6 separate regions of the Homo sapiens genome follow, and regions 2, 3, 4, 5 and 6 are each linked to region 1. The links are contacts of gene promoters, found by promoter capture Hi-C in blood cells and fetal thymus (Javierre and others, 2016). All regions are on one chromosome and are shown on one strand. The core of a region is centred on a gene start or on the middle of the fragment in contact, and the rest is flanking DNA. Distances in the headings are between cores, read along the strand shown. Region 1 holds the start of PALS1 (protein associated with LIN7 1, MAGUK p55 family member). Region 2 has its middle 130 kb from the start of CCDC196. Region 3 overlaps GPHN (gephyrin). Region 4 has its middle 83 kb from the start of CCDC196. Region 5 overlaps GPHN (gephyrin). Region 6 has its middle 8.6 kb from the start of CCDC196.

The links. Contacts are between HindIII fragments. The CHiCAGO score rates a contact against its expected background, and 5 or more counts as called.
Region 2: a contact is called between a fragment that was not itself captured here and the fragment with the promoter of PALS1 in region 1, in 15 of 17 cell types (fetal thymus, megakaryocytes, naive CD8 T cells and 12 more). The highest score is 11.4, in fetal thymus.
Region 3: a contact is called between a fragment that was not itself captured here and the fragment with the promoter of PALS1 in region 1, in 1 of 17 cell types (endothelial precursors). The highest score is 6.7, in endothelial precursors.
Region 4: a fragment that was not itself captured here is called in contact with the fragment with the promoter of PALS1 in region 1 in 1 of 17 cell types (erythroblasts); the score reaches 8.9 in erythroblasts.
Region 5: a contact is called between a fragment that was not itself captured here and the fragment with the promoter of PALS1 in region 1, in 1 of 17 cell types (M2 macrophages). The highest score is 5.4, in M2 macrophages.
Region 6: a contact is called between a fragment that was not itself captured here and the fragment with the promoter of PALS1 in region 1, in 4 of 17 cell types (erythroblasts, total B cells, M0 macrophages and 1 more). The highest score is 8.5, in erythroblasts.

What each region holds. Positions count from the first base shown.
Region 1 is chr14:67,240,008-67,242,707 of GRCh38, forward strand. PALS1 (protein associated with LIN7 1, MAGUK p55 family member) reads left to right here and starts at 1,428. Exons shown (of 15, transcript NM_022474.4): 1 at 1,428-1,526. LOC124903330 (a long non-coding RNA gene) reads right to left here and starts at 1,402. Exons shown (of 2, transcript XR_007064217.1): 1 at 1-1,402. It also overlaps a transcript of GPHN not described here. RefSeq lists an enhancer at 780-1,059 and a silencer at 1,040-2,009. The HindIII fragment of the contact is 3,073 bases long and covers 1-2,595 here.
Region 2 is chr14:66,358,120-66,360,819 of GRCh38, forward strand. No RefSeq gene overlaps it. Among named protein-coding and RNA genes, the nearest start is that of CCDC196, 130 kb to the right of the region's middle. The HindIII fragment of the contact is 188 bases long and covers 1,345-1,532 here.
Region 3 is chr14:66,639,077-66,641,776 of GRCh38, forward strand. The region is part of intron 1 of GPHN (gephyrin); the gene reads left to right. Among named protein-coding and RNA genes, the nearest start is that of GPHN, 130 kb to the left of the region's middle. The HindIII fragment of the contact is 1,000 bases long and covers 795-1,794 here.
Region 4 is chr14:66,401,529-66,404,228 of GRCh38, forward strand. No RefSeq gene overlaps it. Among named protein-coding and RNA genes, the nearest start is that of CCDC196, 83 kb to the right of the region's middle. The HindIII fragment of the contact is 1,276 bases long and covers 689-1,964 here.
Region 5 is chr14:66,620,599-66,623,298 of GRCh38, forward strand. The region is part of intron 1 of GPHN (gephyrin); the gene reads left to right. Among named protein-coding and RNA genes, the nearest start is that of GPHN, 110 kb to the left of the region's middle. The HindIII fragment of the contact is 7,774 bases long and covers 1-2,700 here.
Region 6 is chr14:66,476,418-66,479,117 of GRCh38, forward strand. No RefSeq gene overlaps it. Among named protein-coding and RNA genes, the nearest start is that of CCDC196, 8.6 kb to the right of the region's middle. The HindIII fragment of the contact is 609 bases long and covers 1,107-1,715 here.

The sequences.
Region 1 (2,700 bases), core at 178-2,677:
ATGGAGGAATATGGGCCAAGAAGACAGTTCGGTTGTGTCGTCCACCTGTATTCGAAGCCTACTGAGAAATTTTTGATGGCAGGAGCATTAAGGTCTTTAGTGGCATGCAGCAGAGTTCTGTCCTCCGCTCTGTCTTATTAAACACTTGGACAGAATGCTGATCAGATTTGAGAAGGATAACAAATCTGGGAAGGGTAGGCATCCCCAAAGATCTTCACCACCAGGAACAACGGTTTGCTTCGTTCAGGCCATCACAGTGTCCTTAGTGAGGGACACCACAACCCATAGGCTGTCCAGAGGAGCGTAATGGGGAAGAATGTGAAAGAGCTTGAAAATCAGGACCTGAGGACATTGCGAGATGGAAAAACACCGTGGGACAAAATGAGGAAAACCGAGAGAAATGGAAATGGCATATACGAAGGCTTTGAGGGAGGACTGTGCCCCTGGGGGAAACTGTGCCCCCGGGCTGGAGTCACAGGCATAGTTTGGCCTCATAGAAGGAGAGGTCGATTAACAAACCTTGCAAGTGTTCAAATGTGGAATGGGCTTGCTCGGAAGGTACTGTCAAGACAGAGACCATCCGAGGGCTTTTATTGCAAGTGTCGAGACACATTGCTGGTGTTTCTCCTTAGAACGTCCTCCAATCTGCTCTGACTTCCGCCCGCACCCGCCTGAGTCCTGCCCCATTCCAAGGGTGGCACATCCAGGTCCCGAGGGCGCCAGCCATGCCCGGAGCACGGGCTGATCTGCGTAACTCTGTCCCTTCGGGAGACTTCTGGGAAATAGTTCTAGTCCTTGCTATCCTTGCTTTCTGGTTTTCAGAAATCAGTGCAGCTGCTGGCTTTATGCAGTCTTCTGCGGGACACTGCACACATCCAGGTGTTTATGTCATTTTTTAAAAAAAACAAATGTTAGATTGGGTGACTAACTTGACAGGACATGAGGAATCTCTTCAAGAGGAATCAGATTTTCTTCAGGATACGTCATCCAGAGACAAGAGCCAAGGGATGTAGAAACCCAGGGAAGCCTCGCGTCCCCACAAAGCCCGCCGGCCAAATCCCGAAGGGGCTCTACCGGGCCAGCTAGCCCGGAGCAGTCCGCGTTTTAGACTTAGAGGCGCGCGACTGCGCGCACCCGGCTGGAGCTGCGGAGAGGACCAATGAGCGGGCGCTCTCTCCGCTCCGGCTCGGGATTGGGCAAGCCGCGCCAGCCTCTCACGGGCGGGGTGGGACTCGGATCCGCGCGCCCACTGCGCCAGAGTCCCGGGGGCGCGTGCGCGGTCTCGCGGCGGCCGCAGGGGCCGGTCTCGCGCGGTCTAGAAGTGGAGTTGCTGGCGGCTGCGGCGGTGACGGCGGCGACGGAGGAGGCAGGCGGTGGGGCGGGGGCGGGGACTAAGGATTCTGAGGTGGGGAGTCGGGAGTTTCTGGATTCTTTATCCGGAATTTCAAGGGCCGCCGGAGGGCTGTCGCTTCTGCAGTGCGTAGGAGCGGCCGGGGCGGGAGGCTCCGCGGAGCCGAGGCGTGGAGGTAAGAGGCGGATCGGCGGCGGCTGGGCTGTAGAGATCTTAATCAACAGGTCCCTGGGAGCGCGGCGGGGGAGGGGCGGGCGGCCGGGCTCCCCTTCCCCCACACGCTGCGCAAACTCCGGCCAGCGGGAGACCCCTGGCAGCCAGGCGGGCTTCCTCAGGCGCGCGAGCTGCGGCCGTGGAGGGTGTGAGCCCAACCTTTGTCCCTCGGAGCAACGCTGCCTGCGCGGTGCCCGCTCCTTCTGCTTGGCTGGGCATGCACCTTGGCGCGGGCCACAGCCAGCCGAGCCCGAGGTGCAGGGGGCGCGGCGGGGAGTCGTCTGCCCCCTGCGCCCTCTCTCCGAGGTCGCGACGCGCGGGACTCTCCCGGCCGGGTCTGGGAAATCGGCGAGGGAACGCTTTCCTTTAGAAGTCAGAATGTAGTCAGCGTTCCTCTGCCTGACTCAGCTGCTGGTATTCTGCTGCTCATTGCGTTCTTAAACACGCAAACAGTTCCTGCTTCCTTGTGACCACTTTAAAAGAAAAGCCTAGTTTTGTTCATGGTTTCTGATACTTTAAGGTTGCACGTTGAACTTTGAAGCATGTAAATTGTTATAACCTACGTTTAATGAAGTTTGCTTTAAACGATCTTTGTAGTAAATTATGTAACTTTCTAATGATCATAACTCACCTTCTGTTGATTGACATACAGTAATGTGTACGGAATGTAGGTTTCGGTCAAAAGGTTTTTCTTGGCAGTTTATGCTAAAATTAAAATCTGATGGCTAGGAAGTTTTTAGATGTAGTATGGAGTGTGTGTTTTGTCTCCATACTCGTTTAGAATAGTAAGAATTTAGATTTGGAAAGTCAGTTGAACAAAAATTTTGAAATTTTGATTTGACTGACGCAGTGAAAGGTGTTAATATTTCTGATTTTTTAAAAAAGCAATATCATGTTTTAATGATAGTTTACTAATTATGCTTTTGGATTATACCAGAAGTTAATAACCTGTTAAATTATGCAATAGGAACAAATGACGTGTTGGTTATTGGTGTCTTTGAAGTATTGGTGGTAATGAAACTTATTAAATAAGCTTCCTTGAATTAAGAACTACGATTTTTTTTTTTTACTAGATCCCTGTGGACATAGCTATTGTGGATAGGTTTTATAGGCTTTCTATTTGCGGCAGGATGAGC
Region 2 (2,700 bases), core at 189-2,688, 880 kb before region 1:
CATCTCAGCTCACTGCAAGCTCCACCTCCCGGGTTCACACCATTCTCCTGCCTCAGCCTCCGGAGTAGCTGGGACTACAGGAACCCGCCACCACGCCCAGCTAATTTTTTGTGTTTTTAGTGGAGACCGGGTTTCACCGTGTTAGCCAGGATGGTCTTGATCTCCTGACCTCGTGATCCACCTGCCTCGGCCTCCCAAAGTGCTGGGATTACAGGCATGAGCCACCGCCCCCGGCCAAGAGGCAACCTTTTCTAAACCACTCAAAGCACAGGATGTCTTGTTCCAGCTTTCTCCTGGGACCAGGAGGCTTACTTATCTGACATTTACATAACCAAGGAAGCCTACTGAAGCCTTCTTTGAAGAACAAGGAACATTTACTTCAAAGTGATTCTCTATTCTCAACCTGATTGAATCAAATGGTACTGAAAAAACAAGAAGAAAAACCCCTCGAATTTAATCAAATTTAATTAAAAGTTTGTGCACCCCTTTTAATAGAGGATACATACCCTGCTACACTAACAACCTTAGAGATTGCCTCACTGCATTAACATCCATGAAGGCAATCAATTGGCAAATTTGATCATTCCCTTCGTTTCTAGCTCACAGATGGGAAAACTGAAAAGAATTGTGCAGCTGTGTCTGAAAGTATGTAAATTACTCAGCTCCCTCAAACTTGTTCTTGCTTTTTAAGTGAGCTTAAATCTGGATAAGCCCAACTTCCCCCTCTTTTTCCCATGTTCTGACCACCAGATAGATTGCATATATCATAGCAAACACCTTCTCCTGTCATTTTCCAACTGTGAGAACCTGTAGAAAGCAGGAGCAGAATGTGGAAAAAAATCATTAAAATCTGACAAATAGTTTTTTAAAAGCAAATCTTCCAGGTGTTGTTCTCTAACCTCAAAATGCATAAGCCAGAGGATTATGCTTGAAGATGCGCCTTTTTTTTTTTTTAATTCCCATTTGTCCAGGTTAAAGGAAAATTCCCCAACCACTAACAGGCATCATTAGTTTTCATTTGCTGAGCACCCAATGGATGGATCAGCCTCTTGAGTTGGGTGCTCTACTGCACCACCTGCTATGATCTCTCCAGGTGTATCTGCAAATGACTCTTGAGCTAACAAGCCTGAAGTTTTTCTGCTCATCAGAAGGGCACTTAAAGAAATTACCCATTTGCCTAGAACTGGAGGCAGCTGCAGTCACTGGTATCCCAGATGGTCCCACTTTTTAGCATTACAAATCCTAGAAGAACCTGACAGTACAATAGAGCTCTCACCCCAGCATCCACCTTCTCACTTGCTTCTCAAAGGCAAGATGTCAAAGATGCACTCGTAGTCATTTTCAAGCTTTAGAGCTTTTGGTACCTATCAGAGAATAAGCGCAGCCCAAATACATCAGATGCCATTTGTGAGTGCATGCCAAAAATACCTTTGGTAAATTCCAAGATGCGATTCTTAAACTTGATGAAATATTAGTGTAATTGTATGAACTCGCCACAAGATGGCAGGCTTTAACTTCCTAAAGGCAACCTAAGCTTTTTTTTTTTTTTTTTTTGGCTTTGATGCCTGTAGGGTTGGGGGGGACACTGAAATGACAAGCTGTGGGCAGAGGCATCTACTCGTTTATTAATATTACCAGGCACAGCTTGAGGAGATCTCACATCACTTTAGGGAGCTGATTTGTTTTGGCATTTGGTTGAAGAAGAATTATTCCCTAATCATTTGTCAGGTGAGATGCTTTTAAATTTTAGCTCTTGCCCTCAGAGAAAACAATGTCTGCCAGAAAGATTCACAGCAGGGGCATGTGTATATGTGCAGAATATTCACCGGCATGTTAACAACACAGCAATGTTGTTTTCCTGGAGTTTCAGAGAATAAAGAATTAACCCAGGGACAAAATAAATGTTAATATACATAACTGAAACACACAAACAAATCAGAGGGGGGAAATCCTATTAATAGTAGCTCGCAAATACTATTTCCAACTATGTTTATAATGTTCACCATTAATCCTGCTTTCTCTTTGTTACTTCTAATGACTCACCTACTAAGAGAGTCAAGAAAATAAAGATGCAAAAATCTGTATTTTAAGATGTCCAGCCATATCTTCAAAAAGCAGAAAACAGAAAATCTGTTGCAACTTGTTTAGAAAGAGAGAATTATGCACTCGTACCCGTGGGGAAATCTACCAGTTAGGGAGAGGACCAACTAAGGCTGGAAACAAATGAGGACAGGGACCCACACAGGGGATGGTGGTTCAAACAGAAATAATCTAGGATCTCTTGAACAAAATGAGGAAGTAATTTGGTTGCATTTGGATCAAGCAGATTTCAGAGCAATAAGAATCAGGTAAGGGCAACAGAGAGAGTTAATAGGGGGCATTTTAGACTCACAATTAAGATATAATTTCCTCAGGGCCTTGGAAATAACAATAGCTTTCAGAAGGTCATTAGCACGCAGACTTGGAGATTACTTCAGCCCATCATGTTCATAAAGACGCACTCACGGGTCCACCCCACAAGAGCCAGTAATTAGATTCTACCACTCCCTGTCCCAAGCAGTCTTGCACAGTGACCGTTAACCTCGGCCCCAGAGGTGGGAGAAGTGATCCGAGAATGCTGTCTGCACAGGTCAGGGCTCATAAAGGCAGTAGCAATTAACCTCCCTGCAAGCGTGTGTCTGCCTGGGAGGGGTGGGGGAG
Region 3 (2,700 bases), core at 45-2,544, 600 kb before region 1:
AGATTCATTATATATGGTTCCTAAGTGGACAAATACTGAAGGTAAATATATATATATATATGCATAGGTGACTAGAAGGAAACAGATAATGTAGAAATGAAAAAATTATTAATTGGTAATTATAAGTGGTGTTATAAGTGTAAAAATGAAACTTTTGCAATTATCGAACAAAGAAGATGGCCATTTTCTCTTCATCAAAACTATAAGCTAAAGGTTTAAAAAAAATTCATCAGGTGTGCTGTATTTTGATGATGTCAGTTCAAGAAGAACAAGAATAATGATAAGTTAGATCCAATTAGAGATGTATTTGACATCTGGAATCAATATGTACAAGATGGATGTGTCTCTGGTTCATACATGACAATTGATGAAGCGTTAGTTGCATTTAGAAGACATTGAATACATATACATTCAAAACCAAAACTTTCTGATGAAATTTCACTGCTCCTTTATTTTTACTTCTGCAATATAAAATGACTTGAACATAAAAATAAAATTACATAGTCCATCTGACCCAGCTGGTGAATGGTGATGATTATTTTTTTTTTTGGCATTTGAAAAGTTAAGCTAGACCTTGAAGCTTATTTTAAAGTTTGGCAAATAAAAGGCAGAGGCAAGAGAATAGCTAGAAATATGTATGTGTGTACCCCCACATACACATATATATGTGTATATATGTAACATATAAACTATAGATGATATTTTATAAAATTTATATATCTAAATTGATTTATAAGTTTATACATCTACAAATTTTAACAGATATATACATATGAAATTTTGTCTGAAATTAAAGCTTGCCATTGGGAGATTTTATATGTAAATGTAAGTAGTGCTTATCGTATTTCTGTTTAGAAAGTAACTGGGTATTCATTGGAGATTAGGTTAGAGAAGATATTAAATGTAGGGATTTAATGAAGGATCACAGATGACATAGACTGGAGTAAAGGCATTTATAATAAAGAAGCTGAAACACCTAGGTGCAATGGATCATATTCTTTTGTTCATTCCTGAATTGATTTGTGTGTGAGATAATTTTTTGTGGCCTAAGAAATGGTTTTGGGCTGAGCATGGTGGCTCATGCCTGTAATCCCAGCACTTTGGGAGGCTGAGACACGCGGATCACTTGAGGTCGTGAGTTCAAGACCAGCCTGGCCAACATGGTGAAACTCCATTCCTACTAAAAATACAAAAAATTGGCTGGGCGTGGTGGCACGTGCCTGTAATCCCAGCTGTTCAGGAGGCTGAGGCAGGAGCATCACTTGAACCTTGGAGGCAAAGGTTGCAGTGAGCCAAGACTGCACCATTGCACTCCAGCCCAGGCAGCAGAATGAGACTCTGCCTCAACAAAACAACAACAAAAAAATGAAATGGTTTTGGAAGACATTTACAATAGTTTATTTCCTAGGTCACATTAAAAATGAACATGAAATGATATTAATTACTTAACAGTTTTTTTATCCTTTGGGGTTTTTTAACTATACCACTCTCTTATTGTTATACTATGAAATGTCCAAAGTGCTACTAGTACTTTTGTTTGAGGCAAATATTATTCAGAGACTAAGTTTGACCTTGAACATCACCTTGGATTTAATACAGGCTTTCAAGTAAATATTTGATTTTAGGAAAACCTATGTGTTGAGGCTTTCCTTCCAAGTAGAATGGAGTAGCTGGTAGCAAATTAGTACTTCTGCTTAGAGCAATGAGAAAATCAAGATAAAATATACATGTAACCATTCTGTATCAGAGTTGACCTTGGGGATGTATTTCAAGTCTCAGTTGTATCTGTAGTAAAGCTTATTCTTCCTCTGTTTTGTCCTAATTATATTGGTAATCACATTCAATATAAATTGACTAATTATTAAAATTGAATCACTAAGCTTGTCAGGCTGTATAAAACAAGTAAACCCCAATTATATGCTGCATTCAAGAGCCACATCTTAAATTAAATGGGAGGATGAAGCTAAAAGGATGAATAGATACACTGTCCTAACACTGAAAGGCAAACTGGTGTAGCTACTATATCCAATAAGGTAGACTATAAGATAAAGACTAAATATAGGTGGTCCATAACGTATGATGGTTCAACTTACAATTGTTTGACGTAACGGTGGTGCAAAAATGATACACATTCAGTAGAAGCTATGCTTTGAATTTTGATCTTTCTCTAGGCTAGTGATATGTAATAGAATACTCTATTGCAGTGTTGGGCAGTAGCAGCAAGCTGCAGTTTCCACTCAGCCAAGCAGTCATGAGGGTAAATAACCAACACTCTATAGTATATGAAATGTATTTTTGACTTAACAATATTTTTCACTTACAGTGGGTTTCTCAGGATATAGCCTCATTATAAAGTTAGGAGAATTTGTATAAAAGATGGATGTTTTATAATAATAAAAGGGTAATTGTATCAGGAAGTTTTCACTATCCTAAATCTGCATGCACATAGTGAGATAGTATATATAAAGCAAAAATTGATAGAAGCAAAAGAACTGGACAAATCCCCAAATATACTGGGAGAATTTATGATGCTGTCAGTAGTACCAACCATCAATAGCTGATAGAACAAGTAGATGACAAAAAAAAAAAAAGAGAGAGGTAGAGCACATTTTTACAGCAAGAGTAATAAGTGACTTAATTTACAACTATATAACATTTCACTGGAAAATATGAGAGTACACATTCTTTTGAAGTTCAGAT
Region 4 (2,700 bases), core at 77-2,576, 840 kb before region 1:
TGGATTCCCCTCCTCAAGCCTTCCAGCTCCTGCCAGCTTTGTTCTCTTTGTTCATCTTCTTCTGGGCCATTGCACTGTCTACTTGAGTTAGCCTGTAATATCATATTTGCCAGCAGGTGCTGCCATTTGCCACAGGATTTGCCAATTTTCAAAATTCCCTAAATCTGAGACTCCAGATTGTGTAAAATAGTACAGTGCCTAATTTATCAACTTGGCAGGTTTGAAGTGCTATAAAATCAGTTACTTAAAATGAGTGATACTTGTGCTGCATAATTTTAATGAGCAGAGCTCCACTGCTCTATTAAGACAACAGGGGACCACATTGAGAAAACAAGCAGCAAGAATGTGAGGTTAAAAGAATAACAGGAAAACCCAGTGGGGACAACATGTTCAATAAACAACTGACTTTCTCATTGACTCATCTTAGTATCTTTCATATCTGTCCTTCATTTCCATTTCCACACGAAGTCAGCCCTTTATTACCTCATATGAAAATTAATCCAGTATCTGTAGGTCTTTTCTCCCTGTCCCCAGGCTCTTCCCACTCCTAGCCATCTTGTGTATTGCTGGAATAACCCTCCTAGCATCACACTAAAAACCTTTAATGATGTCCAAATGCCATCATCAAGGCAGTCCTCTGCAGTGTGGCACACCAGGCCCAATAATGCAGTCTCAAATTACCTGTCCAAGCTTACTTTCAATTGTTCCCAGATTCTCCACTTTGACAAGGCAGGGGTTTGTATTCTTCCCTGCAGATAAACTCATTTCCATCTTAGTACCTTTGTGTCTGCTAATCTACCACCTTCCTTCTCTTAATTCCTTAGTCACTGCTATTGCTATATTAATTTCCCAGGAGTAACTAAATGCATGGAATATTGCTGGTTCATATAAACCCTTCTCCCACTATCCCTGGGAACATCTGGAATACAGGACAAGTATTCTACAACAAGACAGTATTAATGAAATACAACACTCTATAACATTTATATAATGCATTAAATAAGTAGACAACATGCAGATAATTCCTGGGAGATGTCGGTCAGCACAAGCCCTTCTATGTACCCACAGTCATTTTTGCATTCCCAGCTGAAATGTGATTTTGAAGCAGTCTCATCTCAGGACTTGTCTTGACTGCACGAGTGGAATCTCAGAGGTAGCTGGCAAATCCTCTGCTCCATGTAAAGCACCATGTTTCTTCTCTGCAGCCCAACCTGCGGTTTCCTAATCTCCTGACTTCCTGAAAGTCACAGGCTATACTATGTTGTTGTCTGCCCCACTGCTCTGGACCTAAGGCACGGAAATCATAGCATCCACTGGTATCACCAGAGGGAAGGGTGCTCCCAGAATGTTCCCCTTTTCTATATTTTCATATGCTGACCAGACTCACTTTCCAATTCCAGGTAGTCCTCTAAGGGTTTTCCTGCCCTCTCAGTCAGCCAGCACCTCTCTGTCTCTTCTATGATACACCCCTGATTTCCCGTTTTGGGATGAAATATGGTCTATTTAGAATGAGAACCAAAAGGTTTAGATTCAAGTTCTAGTTCTGCTACTTCCTAGCTGATGTATTTGAACCTCTGTTTCCTCAGAGGTAAAATGGAAATGATAATTTCTACAAATCTGAGAAGTGAGCTCAAAAAGGAGTAATACATGTGAGGTACATTGAAAACTATAAAGTGCCATATGCAAGTAAGATGACACGTATTTCTGCACTCAGTAGCAGGCACAAACGTATAGTACACATCCTGAGGCGGAGATATTAGGAACAAAGCTAAAACCCTGGCAGGAAGGAAGTACTCCCTGGACGATTTTTTTTTAACCTCGGTAGGTTACAGAACCAAGACTTCATCCACCAGCTCTATCTGAATGCCATCTAGTGGACACAAAGTTTTTGTGAGAAGTACTGCAGACATAAGTGATGGTTCATAAGGCATTAGCCTCTGTTGGTATTGCTAATACACAAGGTAAGCTTTCACCTTAGCTGGACACCTATGAGGTTCAATATAAAGAATTCCAGGGAAGGTCCTGATTTGTGATTCTCACTCCAGCCCCCATGACACCCAAAATTTCATCATCAGAGCTTCATATTTTTCCCGAGCATCAGGGGATTTTAACTCTTCCAATGTCTTTTATCAAAATTGAAAGGCCCATGGGCGAACATGCCCTTAGATCTCTTTCATCTCATACCTCAGCAGATTTTAGCTGAAGGTAAATGAAAAAGATCTTACAGGAATAGAAATCAAGAAGGGCAGGGCAAAGTGGAGGACCTTGGAGAAATATGAGAGGGTCAAAGAGACCGGGGTAACCAAAAACAAACTCCATACTCTCCCTAGCTTTGCTTTCACCAGGTCTTGTTAATCAAATGTTGTTTGGCTAACTTTAATTCTTTTTGCATCCTGCAGCTTACAATTAGCCTTGATGGCTGATGAAGCCCATATTCAAGCAAAAGTAGAAAGAATGCATTTTTTTAAGTTTTAAATTTATCTCTGAAGCCATCTCAGCACATACAGGGGCTGCAGGCAGGGAGTAGTCAGTGGTGGCAGAGGAGACTGCTTTGTGGTTTGCATCCAAAGTCAATGGGGCTTCCCACTAGCAGCCCTAGCTTAGCAGCATGGCACTGGAGGCATGCCCCTTTGGAAATGTGTTGGAGCCCTGCTTAGCTGTGTCTGCTCCTCCTCAACGTGCTTCCTTTTCTATCTACAG
Region 5 (2,700 bases), core at 73-2,572, 620 kb before region 1:
GGAATTGTAGGAGTTACAATTCAAGATGAGATTTGGCAGAGGGGACACAGCCAAACCATATCAGTCTATCTCTGACCGCTCTCAAATCTCATATCCTCACATTTCAAAACCAGTCATGCCTTCCCAACAGTCCCCCAAAGTTTTAACTCATTTCAGCTTTAACTCAAAAGTCCACAGTCCAAAGTCTCACCTGAGACAAGGCAAGTCCCTTCTGCCTATAAGCCTGTAAAATCAGAAGCAACTTAGTTACTTCCTAGATACAATGGAGGTACAGGCATTGGGTAAATACAACCATTCCAAATGGGAGAAATTGGCCAAAACAAAGGGGCTACAGGCCCCATGCCAGTCCCAAATCCAGCAGGGCTATCAAATCTTTTTTTTTGAGAGAGAGAGTCTAACTCTGTCGCCCAGGCTGGAGTGCACTGGCGTGATCTTGGCTCACTGCAAGCTCTGCCTCCCGGGTTCACGCCATTCTCCTGCCTCAGCCTCCTGAGCAGCTGGGACTACAAGCATCCACCACCAAGCCCAGCCAATTTTTTTTTTTTTTTTTGTATTTTTAGTAGAGATGGGGTTTCACTGTGTTAGCCAGGGTGGTCTCGATTTCCTGACCTCATGATCCGCCTGCCTCGGCCTCCCAAAGTGCTGGGATTACAGGCATGAGCCACTGCACCCAGCCAATTTTTTTTTTTCGTATTTGTAGTAGAGATGGGATTTCACCATGTTAGCCAGGATGGTCTCTATCTCCTGACCTCGTGATCCACCTGCCTCGGCCTCCCAAAGTGCTGGGATTACAGATGTGAGCCACAGTGCCTGGCCAGGGCTGTCAAATCTTTTTTTTTTTTTTGAGACAGAGTCTCCCTCTGTCGCCCAGGCTAGAGTGCAATGGCACGATCTCAGCTCACTGCCAGCTCCACCCCCTGGGTTCACACCATTCTCCTGCCTCAGTCTCCTGAGTAGCTGGGACTACAGGCACCCGCCACCATGCCCAGCTAATTTTTTGTATTTTAGTAGAGACGGGGTTTCACCATGTTAGCCAGGATGGTCTCGATCTCCTGACCTTGTGATCCACCGCCTCGGCCTCCCAAAATGCTGGGATTACAGGCGTGAGCCACCGCACCCAGCCGGCTGTGAAATCTTAAAGCTCCAAAATGATCTCCTTTGACTCCATATCTCATGTCCGGGTCATGCTGATGCAAGAGGTGGGTTCTCATGGTCTGGGCAGCTCCACCCCTGTGTCTCTGCAGGATACAGCCTCCATCCCAGCTGCTTTCATTGGCTAGTAGTGACTGTCTGTGGCTTTTCCAGGCACACAGTGCTGTCGGTGGATCTGCCATTATGGGGTCTGGAGGATGGTGGCCCTTTCTCACAGTTCCACTAGGTTGGAGCCCCAGTAGGAACTCCATGTGGGTGATTCAACCCCACATTTCTTTTCTGCACTGCCCTAGCAGAGGTTCTTCATGAGCGCCCCACCCCTGCAGCAAACTTCTGCCTGGACATCCAGGTATTTACGTACATCCTGTGAAATCCAGGTGGAGGCTCCCAAACCTCAGTTCTTGACTTCTATGCACTTGCAGGCTCAACACCACATGAAAGCTGCCAAGGCCTGGGGCTTGAACCCTCTGAACGCATGGCCTGAGCTTATACTGGCCCCTTTCAGTCATGGCTGGAGCAGCTGGGATGCAGGGCACCACCTTTCTGGACTGCACACACCATGGGGACCCTTGGCCCGGCCCACAAAACCATGTTTTCCTCCTAGGCCTTTGAGCCTGTGATGGGAGGGGCTGCCATGAAGACCTGTGACATGTCCTGGAGACATTTTCCCCATTGTCTAGGGGATTAACATTCAGCTCCTCATTACTTTTGCAAATTTCTGCATCCGGCTTGAATTTCTCCTCAGAAAATGGGATTTTCTTTTCTTTCGCATTGTCAGGCTACAAGTTTTCCAAACTTTTATGCTCTGTTTCCCTTTTAAAACTGAATGCCTTTAACAGCACCCAAGTCATGTCTTGAATGCTTTACTGCTTAGAAATTTCTTCCATCAGATACCCTAAATCATCTCTCTCAAGTTCAAAGTTCCACAGATCTCTGGGGCAGGGGCAAAAAGCTGCCAGTCTCTTTGCCAAAACATAGCAAGAGTCACCTTTGCTCCAGTTTCCAACAAGTTCCTCATCTCCTTGTGAGACCACCTCAGCCTGTACCTTTTTGTTCATATCACTATCAGCATTTTTGTCAAAGCCATTCAACAAATCTCTAGGAAGTTCCAAACTTTCCCAGATTTTCCTGTCTTCTTCTGAGCCCTCCAAACTGTCCCAATCTCTGCCTGTTATCCAGTTCCAAACTCGCTTCCACATTTTCATGTATGTTTTCAGCAGCACCCCATTCTACTGGTACCAATTTACTGTATTAATCCATTTTCATGCTGCTGATAAAGACATACCTGAGACTGGGCAATTTATAAAAGAAAGAGGTTTAATGGACTTACAGTTCTTCATGACTGGGGAGGCCTCACAATCATGGCAGAAGGCAAAGAGGAGCTTGTATGGCAGTGGACAAAGTCACCTCTTATATGGCAGTGGACAAAGAGAGAACTTGTGCAGGGAAACTCCCATTTTTAAAACAATCAGATTTCATGAGACTCATTCACTATAATGAGGACAGCACACGAAAGACCCACCCCCATAATTCAATCACCTCCGACCA
Region 6 (2,700 bases), core at 161-2,660, 760 kb before region 1:
CTTCAACTGACGGTCCTTCAGCCTTTGGAAAATGGATGTGGGTAGCAGTTTCCCCTCTGTACGAGTATCTCTGGTGTAGTTGGGGAATCCAAGCTCAATTCTGATCATCCGGTTACTTATTGGAAGTAGTGTGAGTCATGATAATTGAAGGTTGTTGGCTAAGCATGGTTGTCATGCTAAGTTTCCATATGTCAGCCTTCTTCAACGTCTGTATCTTTGCTAAATAGACCAAAACTTACAATATATAATTAAATGTTACATTATATGCATCATCAAAACTAGGCCAGTCTATTTATACGGAAATTGAGTATCTTGCTAACTTACTATTTTGATTTGAAGATAGATGTTGGCACTCAAAGAATTATTATTATTATTGTATAAATAATATAATGGCTATATGGTATACTGGAAAAATCACCAAAATGGGAATAAAGAGTCAAATTCGAGACTCAACTCTGCTATTAACTAGTTATATAATGTTAGATTAGTTTTAAAATCACCCAGTATTTGATTTCGGTTTTTAAATTTACTAAACTGTCCTCTGGTTCTAAAATTCCACAAATTAAAAATGTCTTGATATAACTTATTACCCATTTACTATTAAAAATGCACTTTAAAAGATGATAGGTAGCATAGTAGTTGCTATGACATTATCTGTAGGAGTTAATGTAAGTCACCTAGTGGTGTGATGCTGATAAATGTTTTCAACAACCAGCTCTCTGGTGAAAACAGCTCGGATATGTATCTTTGGCCTGGTTCCAGAGTGTGACTATTCACCCCAGATGATTTAAAGTCACTGAATGTGGAATTGGAAACAGATAGGCACAATCATCTCACAAGCCAGTGTAAGCTGGCTCTGGCACAATACTGGCCCTGCATTTATATGGTATTCAAGGAAAAATATATTCAGCTGAAGTAACAAACAATCTAGCTATCAGTGGCTTAAACAATAAAGGAATATATATTTTTTTCCATGTAAAAGAAGTCTGGACGTAGCGGTTCAAAGTTTGTTTCAGCAGTTCCACCATCTCAGGGTATTGGGTCAGTTTCTCCATAATTCTCTTGGCCTTCTACCTTATTGTTACAAAACAGCCAGAGTAGCTCCAAGCTTCCTGTCCTTTTAGGACCATATCCAAAGTAGAAAAGACATTGTAAAGAAAATATACTTTTTACTTGTCATTGTTTTCCTCCTTTTATTAAAGAGAAAGAAAAAATTTGCCCAGAAACCCCAGAAGGCTTCACCTCATGTTTCACTAGCCAGGACTGAATCCCATGTCCATTCTCAGACCTGTCACTGGCAAAGAGGATGTGAATTGCCACAGTTGGTTCAGATCAATTGTGATTTTAACCCTGGGACTGAACATATGGACAAAAGAGGAAGTAACATTGATGTAGGCAAATAATAGTGTTGGCTACATGTAAGAAAAGTTTCAAGCTGAAAAATGCTGATACTTGCAACTACCTACTCCAATCCAATTTGTTAATTATTGAGTCTATTCAATGGGCAAGACAAAAGAATGTATCTATCTCTCTCTTGGGCATGTCATAATCACATGCCCAAGAGTGGATTTATAAAGGAAGTCCCAGCATAGTCATTAAGACGTTTAACCTTTTTAAACTTCTTTATGAAATTGGGAGAGTTATATTTTAAAATGTCAATCTATATCATAATTTAACTTACAAAAATTTTTAATTAATGTGAACACCTTAGATCAAGCTTTTTGACCATTTGGACAAAGGAGTAACTAGTCCTGATTTAATTTAAAGATTTAGAGTTAATATCCTAATTCAGGGATTTATTATCATGATATATTACTATATGTAATGGCCTTCATTTAATTTTTAGTAAACGCTGCTTGGGTTATAGACCAGTTTCTAATACATGTACTCAAGTAATAAAACTTCATTTATTTAAAATGATTTTGTGGTTCATAAATAGTATTTCATTTGATATCTCATTTTATAACATTCAGAACGTTTGCCACAGTGCATCCAAACTGAAATTGGAAAGGGAGTCAGATCTGGTATATTAAACAAGTCTCAGAATAAAAATTTTTTTTACATGGAAAATGACCAGCTTATAAAGCCAGAAGATTCTCAGAGTTGTCACCTAGGGCTTACACAGCCTTTAAAAAATATACAGAACCTGTTCAGACTCTGCTTCTTTATATTTTCCTAATTATCATTTATTTATATATCATTTTTTATTTGCAAATACAAATGCAAATAAAAGATGGAAAAATGCTACTATACAGAAAAAAGGCCTAATATGACAAATGTCATTATTGAAGCAGCATATGGGGCAAGGGTACATAATTTGGTTATTTTTATTTTGTAGTGCCTAATATTGTAGATGGTTATTGTTAAATTGAGAAAATTATACCAGTGGCATACTTTAGGTTGTTCAATCATTTCAGTAGAGGTGGCAGATGAGCCTATATGAGTAGCTAACGCAGAACTAGATAATTTTTGCTCAGTTTAGACTATGGAGACTACTTTTTATTTTGGCTGTGGAATATGACTAGATTATCTAATTTGAGATGTATTATATAACCCAGCCCTTTACAAATTTTATATTTTATCTATTTAGTACTTTTCTATGTCCCCTATAATGCCTAATCATAGGTGTCAAGAATATTTGTTCTTTTGGGTTTTCTCATTTTATTTTAAAAGTGTTACTTCTGTCATTCACTCTCTGAC